Linked DNA regions of Homo sapiens: all the other regions are linked to region 3. Evidence: promoter capture Hi-C in 16 types of primary human blood cells and fetal thymus (Javierre and others, 2016). All regions are on one chromosome and are shown on one strand. The core of a region is centred on a gene start or on the middle of the fragment in contact, and the rest is flanking DNA. Distances in the headings are between cores, read along the strand shown. Region 1 overlaps TMEM214 (transmembrane protein 214). Region 2 overlaps MAPRE3 (microtubule associated protein RP/EB family member 3). Region 3 holds the start of CAD (carbamoyl-phosphate synthetase 2, aspartate transcarbamylase, and dihydroorotase).

Region 1 (3,281 bases), core at 4-2,503, 180 kb after region 3:
TGCTTCAGAGCCCATGCCTGCCTGTGGGGAATAGCCACTGAGGACCTTGCAATGGCTCTGAATCTTTTTACTCAGAGACTCCTTGGAAATCTGTTGAAAGCCATGGACCCTATCCCTAAGAAAATGCCCATATGCCAATCACACTCAAGGGTCCATATAATTTCAAGGGGTCACTGTTCCCTTGAAACCTACTCTTGAACTTCCAGGTTGCAAATCTCAGATCTAGGATGGCTGGGGAAGGAGAGACGGGAATATGTAGTGTGGTTCTGGTGCTGTGGTCCCTTCTCAGCAGGTGTGCCCCAGAGCAGTCCTACCTGGGTGTCAGGGAGTTGTTCGGCATATAGGCAAAGTCCAGAAGTGGGAAGAAGTCCTTGGGGCCAATCATGCCGAAGCCCTTGGTAAGGTTGGGATGCATCCTGTGGGGATGAAGAAACAGGCTCGCTGGACACCACCACCCATGCCAGCTGTTTTGGCCATGACCCCAGCTAAGCCAACATCTAGGAAAAAGGGTATAAACTCTACCCCATCTGCCAGCCCTTAATAGCTCCCTCTTCTTCCTTCCTCACCATCACATTCTAAGGTGGTGGGAGAAGCTGGTCCTGATTTTCCTCATATCCATGGAGACCAAGATCATAGCCTCCCATTTTGCTATAACAGCCACTTGGGACACCCTGAGCCTTCCCCTTGCTGCCCTCCCATTACTCACAGGAGCAGCCGATCCAGGTATGTGATGGCAAAGGGAGACAGAGACTTGATGCCCAGCACAGGCAGCATGATCCCCAGCCACACTGCAGGGGTAAAAGTCACGAGGGAGGCCTCAGGCTTGCACCTACTGGGGGCATCAAAGAGGAGTTTTCCAGCTCCGAGACCCTCCCTCTTTCTTCCCTATTTCCCTGTTACCTTTCAGTCCCTCGGTGAGGTTGGCAAAACCTGCTTGACCCAGGGCCCACATGATGGTGAGACACTTTGCTGGTCGGCTCTGGTGGGACCTCAGCAGTTCCAGGAACTGAGGAGACCGGTGGGGAAGGCAGATTGGGATAGGACAAAACACCAGGAGCACCCCCCAAAGCCAGGAGGGAAGGGAGATGTCAACTGGAAGAGGGAGGACAGGCCGAGCAAGAGTGGAGCACTATGGCCACGTGGTGCAGGTTCTGTTTGTGGGCTTCGCCCATACTCTGCCATTTACTGGATGACTGAGCCTAGGAAAGTTACTGAACTCCTCTGTGGCTCAATCTTTTCATCTATAAAAATGGGAAATAATAGCAGTACCTTGCTCCTATGTTTCCAGAGCACACACACAGGATAGGTGCTAATAGTGTTACCCATTATTACTAGGCTTACAGGTCTTCCACTATCCCAAACCTGAGTCCAACAACATAGATTCTGCCCAGCCTCCCCAGTCCTAGCTTCCTAGCATCCCCACCATCACTGAGAGCTCACCTTGCCTAGGTTTGCCGTGGCAATCTTGGGCTTGTCTTGCAGGATGGCCTGGATACAGATGCGGTAACCATGTAGTGACTCCCCTGGAGAGATACACATTCTCACACCTACTCACATTATTTGGCATCCCAAACCTGAAATCTCCCATTTGTCAGCGGTGAGCCCAGGCCCCAGGTCCACTGACTCCTAACTTCCTCCACACTTTCCAAAAAGTGTTAAGGTTAGCACATTTCTCTGCTGGAAACAGAACCACTGAGTGGTACTGGAAGCAGGAAAAAAAGGAGGAGGCTCCCAAGATGGTCATCCCTCCCGTGCCCCTTTCACCTGGTGTCTTATCCAGCTCTTGCAACATGGTGAACAGACAGTGGTCAAAAAAGAGCTCCAGAGACCCTGCTGCCTTCGCCAGCAGCCCTCGGATGATCCCACGTAGCTCCCGGCTCACCAGGCTGTAGGGATAATCTAAGGCCCATAGGCCTCAATGTGAGTGCTAGGACCAGACACCCATCAGCTCTGAGAACTGTGGTGCTCTCCCTGGGAATGGTGAGTGGAGGCAAAGGCCCCTGCACTGAGGCTGGGATCCTTCCTCTGAGGAGGCCCAGAGGGAGGATCACAGAATGAGGCCCAGAAACATTCACAGTCACGATGATTTGAGACCAGCCCAAATCACCCATGGAAATCAGGACAGTGTGGGGCACTGGGATCTGTTATACCACCCTTTTTGAATTTATTTGAACTTGTCTGAGCTTGAGGAAGCTGGAAGGACTTACCATGAGTATGCTGGCTCAGCGTGGGTTCACTTAGAGGAGCTTGTAGCTTGTAGTTGAGATAGCTGGCCAGGTCCTTCAACCATATGGATGGGTTTCCAGAGAACACACTCTGGCTCTTGTCCAGTTCCTTCTGCAGGTCTGCCACATCCAGCTGCCAGGGACAATCCCCCAACCCCCCACCATGGCGAGTTGTGAGTGAGGGAGTAAAGAAATGGGGTAGGGGTGGGAAAATGGTTGAACTAGGTGGCAGTAGGAAGAAGGGATTCCATTTTTAAGCATAAGAACATGGAATGCTGCAATTCTGCTGTACCTACATCTTTAAGAATGGAACAGGACAGCTGAAAATGCTGATCTCAGGCCCTATCCTCTCAGGCCCTCCACATGTTCAAGAGGAAAACAGAGGGCCAGGCGCGGTGGCTCACGCCTGTAATCCCAGCACTTTGGGAGGCCAAGGTGGGCGGATCACCTGAGGTCAGGAGTTCAAGACCAGCCTGGCCAACGTAGTGAAACCCCATCTCTACTAAAAATACAAAAATTAGCCAGGCGTGGTGGCAGACGCCTGTAATCCCAGCTGCTTGGGAGGCTGAGGCAGGAGACAGAGGTTGCAGTGAGCTGAGATCACACCACTGCACACCAGCCTGGGCGACAGAGGGAGACTCTAACTCAAAAAAAAAAAAAAAAAAAGAGGAAAACAGAGGACAAGACAGAAAATGAAAGATCAGTATTTCCATAGGACAGAGAATCATAACCAGTTTCTCCATCTCCTCCCTGGTGTTCCTGGGTCTTCAAGGCTTTCCTCTTACCAATCCATGTTTCCCTATAAATTTTCCATTTCCTTTCTATTCTAAGTGCAGGCATTCTGTTCCCCTGGGGTTTCCATCTTTTCCTGAACTCCTCTCAACCCTTAAAGTGTTTCAAATCCCATAGGATCTCAGCTGCCCATCCACCTCCCCCTCCTCTCATCTTCTCTAAATCTCAAGCCCCCATTCTTTCTGCGTCTCATGTCTAGGCACACTCACAGCTTTCAGTGCTTCCTCCAGGCTGCGGAAGCGGCCCTGCTTCTGGTTTTGGTTG
Region 2 (3,435 bases), core at 62-2,561, 240 kb after region 3:
TCCCCTTTGAGTCTCCTTTTCCCTTCCCCACACCCAAATCCCACCTCCCAGAGGTAAACATTATTGCGTTTCTTTTCAATCTTTAGATGTCTATACATGGGTATTTCCTTCCCTACTGAAATTTATCTAGGAATTTAAATTCACTTTTGCTCTTGCACCTGAACAGCTTGCCCTGGTTCTTTAATTACTCAGTAGTTTCTGCCTTGAGCCAGTCTGTAATTCTCTCCATCCAAAATGACCTCCCTTTACCTCTGCTCACTGGCAAGGTTTCCCTCTTAAGATGAATAGCTCCTTTCCCTTGCCCCCTGGATCTCACGGATGCAGAAGCTGATTTTAGCAAAGTCACCGATGAAATCTATGCCTCTACCAGTTGAGGAAGTCAATAAAGACCACATGTGTGTCCCTCACAAGCAAGAGCTCAGCAGCTTTTCTATTTCAAATGAAGACCACTCCCCAGACTGGCCTCCCTGCTGGAGAACTAGCCACCCCCACCACACACCCAAGCACACCACATCTGTGCCTCCTAAAGTCAAATGCTCCTGTCCTGCCAGTCTTTCAGGTTGGCTGAATACATGGAGCAAAGATACATTTCATATACTCCGGTTTTGGCAGTTGAAATAATAATGCAAGTGCCGGGTCTTCCCGGTACAAACCTTTTCTCTGTTCGTGTCAAATACCGAGAGGGGTGCTGAGAGATGGGGGCTACAAAACTGAGAGTCCAAGATGGACCTAAATCACGAAACAATTTTGAAACCATTATTTGCTATTTTATGCTTTAGTCAATATAAAATAATCATTGCTATTTCTTATGAAGCAAGCACTCTACATACTCCCTTTCATTTAATCTTCACAACAACCCTGTAAAACAGATAGTTATTATTCCAGGGTTATAAATGAGGAAACTGGCATTCAGAGGTAACATAACTCACCCAAGGCCACACAGCCAGGAGATGGCTGGATGGGGATCTGAACTCAAGTCTGCCTGCTTCCAGAGGTCAGGCTGCCTCCGCGCTTCCCAAGGAGAGGGTTTAGAAGTCCTTATGGCTCCCAGAAACTACAAAAGGTTCCATTCTGAGAGGTGGAAGATAAGCCCGCAGCTGCCCAATGTGCACGCTCCTCCTCTCAGCCCCATCTGCCTCTCCACCTTGCTTTCTGGAATGCGGCAGTCTCACAGATAAGAAGTAGAAAAGACTTCAAATACCCAACTTCACATTTGCTTTTCTGTTAGTTGATGCAAATTAAAAAAAGAAAGACCTTCCTGAAGTCAGAATGTGTGATAAAAAATATTATTTTTAAAGTGGCAAGAATAAATATTTAGTTAGACAGTTTGACACAAAATTTTGCCTGGCTGTGCAGCATCTCAGATGACAAAACAAGCCCTTGCCTACAGGGCTAATTACGGACTACTAAATTATTTTTATTAAAACCCTTTGGAACATTATGAGGGATGAGGCAATGTGGTGTTGAAGAATAACTCTAGTCTGGAAATCTGGAGATCTAATCCTGACTCAGCCACTAATAACCACCAACATTCATCTGCCTAGTGTACACAGTTTACAAAGTGTTTTTACATACGTTCTGCATGGGTTGGGTGACCTTAGGTAAGTCATTTAACTCTTGGTGTCTTGTGTCAACTTTAGAAATGAGGGCATTAAACTATACCATCTGGGGTCACCTCCAGTGCTAACATCCTAAGCGAGGGAGACATGTGCCTTGGGACCTTTACAAATGTATCTGTAAGCAAATCAGGGCAGATGCATTCTGTTTTAAAAAACTATATTTTCTGGCCAGGCGCGGTGGCTCACGCCTGTAGTCCCAGCACTTTGGGAGGCCGAGGCGGGTGGATCATGAGGTCAGGAGATGGAGACCATCCTGGCTAACAAGGTGAAACCCCGTCTCTACTAAAAATACAAAAAATTAGCCGGGCGCGGTGGCGGGCGCCTGTAGTCCCAGCTACTCGGGAGGCTGAGGCAGGAGAATGGCGTGAACCCCGGGAAGCGGAGCTTGCAGTGAGCCGAGATTGCGCCACTGCAGTCCGCAGTCCGGCCTGGGCGACAGAGCGAGACTCCGTCTCAAAAAAAAAAAAAAAAAAACTATATTTTCTGTTCGGCTTCTGACAAATGTTACTCGGCTAAATTCAGGAATAGCTCATAAGACGTTTGCTGCCAGTTAGTTGGCTCAGTTTCTGGAGAGTACCACATTAAGACCCTGGGTTGGATTCTCATATGGGAACTTTCCTCCGTTCAATAGCCTCCTACTATGCCTAACTCCAGCCAGTCATCTTACAAATACAACCCCACAATGTGTGCTGGCGTGCAGGAAGGACTAGAAGAAACTCAGCTTCACAATGCATGCACTCTCAGGACGGTAGGTCAGAAACGGCATCATCACACAGGAATACTATCAATAGCATTCTTTCTCAGTTCCAAGATTCACAAATCCCTCCCTCAAGTCTTGCCATTTCCCGAGGGTTTTAATGTTTCTAAAATGAGGATGCACCTTGGAATCAGCATATATATTTTGATCTGGTAGCATTAGATTATTTTACCTAAAAGCTATTGGTAAATTGCTGGTGTGTCTTAGAATCAAGAATACAGTCCTACAAAACCTCAATACCATTACATAGATTTAGGTCTAACTTGGTTCAAATCATGTCCCTCTCCTTGATCTTAACAATTACATTCAGCAACAGCTGGATAGGCAATGTATAAGACAAGTATTAGTCCTGTTTCCTCATAGTAGCAGTTTAAAAGGCATTCCATCATTATCTCATAAAACACTGGTATGGATTTCAAAGGCAAATTAATCCATATAAAAACTACTCTGATCCTCTGAAAATGTACTATCCCATAGCAAACTGGAAAGGAACATTTTACTTACACCCTCCTGATCTATCTAGCCTTGACACATTTTCTTCCTCCTTAATTCACAACCCTCCACCCCAGTAATATCGCTGATTCCCAAAATACACTCAGCCCAGGAGGAGCAGCTCTCCAGTACAGCTGTCTGCTCCTGCCCTGCTCGGGTATTTTGGTGAGCTATGTGACACAGGACCACACAGAAGGAATGCCACTCTCAGGCCCCACAGTTCCCACTGCACCACAGGCAGGTGCATCCCACCAAACCCCAGTCTGGCATTCGAAACAGAAGAAACTGCCCTGCTGGATGGGGGCTATAGTTTTCCTGAACTTCATCTCTATGTTTAAAACTAGGGCGACAGCCGTCTTGGCTACTGTAAACTAATCTGATGGGCATGGGGGCAGGGAGTGGCTATGAGGAGGCTGCCAATAGGCCATGATTGAGCAAAGTAAAGAGTGAAATAGTTATTTCTCATTGTTTGCAACCCCGGAAACTCCAAATGAGTGGCTCCTTCACCATGATTTTTAGAAATGGACCATGCGTTCCTTTTACCATCTGGAGTAAAAATCCCAAAGC
Region 3 (3,303 bases), core at 367-2,866:
AGTGTATTTGTAGGTTTGTGATGAACCTAGAAATTCTTTTCCAGGAAGAACAACATGTACGTCCTTTATCCGGAGCTCACTCTCCCCAGCGTCAGGGTGGCTGGGAAGGCAAATTAAGAATTAAAGGCTTACACCTGCAGTGAGGCCAAACAAATTTTGAGAGATACTACTCTAGGCCAGATTGACTTCCTCTATTACCTTAATTACTATATGTTGGGTTTTTTTTAATGCTTGAACTGTCAGAGGGCAACTTAGTTTCCAAATTTCAGAGGTGAAGGAATAGGGGAAACCTCACTGTAGGAAGAAACTCAGTTTTCTCACCTAGAGGTAAGAACACAACTGAAAAGCAGAGAATCAGACGAGGCCATGTCAGTAGGTCTAGAAGATAATGTCACTGGTTTTGTAGGTAAACTGGCACTCACTGTCACAGAGAAGTATGTGACCCTAGTTTCCAGTCTCTTTCCACTAATTTATGTAGTCCTAAAAAGCACTGCTCCCATCTGACTCTGCTGCTAAAAAAAAACCTTCAATGGATCCTTTACCAAACTAAGCTGACTCTGCTTTGGCTTCAGGTCCCTCCATGCCCACCGGATTTAACTTATCTGCAGGCTTTTTTCTCCTGACTTCTGCATGCCTAACAAGTTGGACAAGGCTGTTCCCTTACACCTCTTTTACTTTTCCTTGATCCATGCCTTCACTACATACAGAATGCTTTCAGCTATACCTGGAGCCTTGATGCCCTTAACAAAGGCGGTAGCTTTTTCCTGAGGCCTCCAACACTCTGTGCCTCCCAAGGCACTTAACAACCCCTAACTACAGTTACTAGTGATCTTAGTCCTTGACTTTACTACTTCAGTGGGTATGTTTTCTGCAGGATGCCCAGCAGGGTGTCAACGTCTCCTACTTCACTAATAGTTAACAATTACTGACTTGAAAAGGAATGTAGAGAAAGCACTGGGTGTGGCTACCTTGCAGAGACCGAACTCATCCATTTCATCTGGGGGGATGCCATAGTTGCCGATCAGAGGATAGGTGAGCACTAAGATCTGTGCCTTGTAGGAGGGATCAGTGAGGGCCTCGGGGTAGCCGACCATGCCGGTTTGAAACACTGCAAGAAAGAAGCAGGGCTGGGCTCCGGTAGGGCACCCTTCGGAACACTCCCCGCGCGATGAGCACGCCCCAGTGGAGGCTGCCTTGGTCGCGAGGGGTTTATGGCGCTGGGGCCCATGGGCACCGAATGGGGGAAGGGGGTACGCTGGCGGGAAAATGGCGGGGTCTGGACGGGGAAGGTTGGGAGGAGAGGCGCATCACAGAGTGGGATAAGGTCTGCAGCCTAACCGGGCTTGCTTACCCACTTCCCCGGCAGTCGACACGGCGGCCCCAAAGGGCTGGCCCCGCAGGACCGACCCGTCCTCCAACACTAGGGCCGCCATGGGAAGGGAGCTCAGAGGCGGGGGCGAGTACGGAGAAGCGGGAAGGACTGCAAACTCCACTGGAACCACGTGAGGACGGCGCGCCGGAGTCGGTCCACGTGGCTAACGGCGCGGGGCGCTGGAGAGAAGCCGGGCGCGGCAGCGTAGGAGCCTCGGGCGCGCTTGGCGGCAGCAGCAGAGACTGCGGCGGCGCGGACACAGGCGGCGTGAGGGGCGGGGCCGGGCACGTAAGGGGCGGGGTCCGCGGAGCCACGGGGAGTGGGCCCCCGTGGTCTCCGCACTGCAAAACCGGGGGAAACCTGAAAAAACCGGCTGCCCTAAAGCAGTCCCTCCCACCCCAAGCAAGAAACACGTAAAGGCAGGGCGCCTTTCCTTAAAAAGAAAGAGAGGAAAAAAAAAGAAAAAAGTGTTTATTATAGGCAACAACACCAATGGGAACTGGTATTTGTCTACACCAAGGGAGTGCAATTTTTCATCTTCCAATGGCGGCCTCAACCTTGAGGCGAATCCACTGGCGAAAGATGCCTTTCTAGGAAGCAGAGCTCCCTGACTGGGCTAAGATAGTTCAGATTGATCTTAGGTCAATGGTAAGACCTATGTAGTTCATGAAGTCTTGGCTTTTCGGCGCTGGGTCGCCCAAAGCAGAATGGAGACGGATAGAGTGGTGGCTCCCAGAATCCCGAAGAACATAAGCAGTGAGAACGAGCCCTGTGAACAACAGACCAAAAAACACCCCCATACAACGTTACACGGAGGGCCACATCCTAACACCTAGTTCTTTCCTAATATACCTATCACTTTGTCTAGGGCAATTCTATAGTTTTCCACCTATAGGAAATTTGTATCAGCTCCTGGTCTTGTGGCTCTCCTTTCTGAGAAGACTTGCTCTATGCATTCCTTGTATCCCTAGTTAGACGGCCTAATTCCTCACCTGGCGCATACACTTGTATCCATGGAAACCATCAGCACAAACACACTGCAAAAGACCTGGACCATCAGGTACACAAGATCCATTCTCAGGACACATTTCTGGAGGCCAGAGAGAAATAGAGAACATCACTTTATCCATTTCATTAGGCATATTTCTCAATTATCTGTTTCAACTTAGATTCTCTCAATCATTGCTAGGATAAAGGAAGAAGAAAGAAAATTACAGATAAAAACAGTAACAATAATGTCAGGCCTCTGAGCCCAAGCTAAGCTATCATATCCCCTGTGACCTGCACGTATACATCCAGATGGTCTGAAGCAACTGAAGATCCACAAAAGAAATGAAAATAGCCTTAACTGATGACATTCCACCATTGTGATTTGTTTCTGCCCCACCCTAACTGATCAATATACTTTGTAATCTCCCTTACCCTTAAGAAGTTTCCTTGTAATCTCTCCCACGCTTAAGAAGGTTCTTTGTAATTCTCCCCACCCTTGAGAATGTACTTTGTAAGATCCATCCCCTGCCCGCAAAACAGCACTCCTAACTCCACTGCCTACCCCAAAACCTGTAAGAACTAATGATAATCCCACCACCCTTTGCTGACTCTCTTTTTGGACTCAGCCCACCTGCACCCAGGTGAAATAAACAGCCTTGTTGCTCACACAAAGCCTGTTTGGTGGTCTCTTTACACGGACACACGTGAGACAAATAATAGAGTATATCTTAAGATCTTTTCTTTCAAAGGGGTTATAGCCCCAGAACTCTGAATGAAAGGCGCTTAAGCAACTTTGTCTTTCTGATCTAAAGTGGAAAATACAAGGGAGAAAAGACAATTCCCAGAAGTTTGGAGGTAAGACAGCATACCTGGGTCCCCAGTGTTATTGCAAAGGTTCTTTTGCCCTTGACAGATTTGGTTGTCTATATAAGAGGTGATAG

What was found. Contacts are between HindIII fragments. The CHiCAGO score rates a contact against its expected background, and 5 or more counts as called.
Region 1: a fragment that was not itself captured here is called in contact with the fragment with the promoter of CAD in region 3 in 2 of 17 cell types (total B cells and naive CD8 T cells); the score reaches 5.7 in total B cells.
Region 2: a contact is called between a fragment that was not itself captured here and the fragment with the promoter of CAD in region 3, in 1 of 17 cell types (total B cells). The highest score is 5.5, in total B cells.

What each region holds. Positions count from the first base shown.
Region 1 is chr2:27,034,212-27,037,492 of GRCh38, reverse strand. TMEM214 (transmembrane protein 214) reads right to left here. Exons shown (of 17, transcript NM_017727.5): 2 at 3,227-3,281; 3 at 2,208-2,358; 4 at 1,765-1,899; 5 at 1,441-1,523; 6 at 901-1,006; 7 at 707-788; 8 at 315-416. Among named protein-coding and RNA genes, the nearest start is that of TMEM214, 2.9 kb to the right of the region's middle. The HindIII fragment of the contact is 4,998 bases long and covers 1-3,281 here.
Region 2 is chr2:26,972,205-26,975,639 of GRCh38, reverse strand. All of the region lies in intron 1 of MAPRE3 (microtubule associated protein RP/EB family member 3), which reads right to left. Among named protein-coding and RNA genes, the nearest start is that of MAPRE3, 3.3 kb to the right of the region's middle. The HindIII fragment of the contact is 5,007 bases long and covers 1-3,435 here.
Region 3 is chr2:27,215,682-27,218,984 of GRCh38, reverse strand. It overlaps CAD (carbamoyl-phosphate synthetase 2, aspartate transcarbamylase, and dihydroorotase), which reads right to left and starts at 1,616. Exons shown (of 44, transcript NM_004341.5): 1 at 1,352-1,616; 2 at 969-1,108. The coding sequence starts at 1,433. ATRAID (all-trans retinoic acid induced differentiation factor) reads right to left here. Exons shown (of 7, transcript NM_001170795.4): 5 at 3,232-3,303; 6 at 2,365-2,462; 7 at 1,828-2,141. The coding sequence ends at 2,037. RefSeq lists a silencer at 1,515-1,744. The HindIII fragment of the contact is 10,576 bases long and covers 1-3,303 here.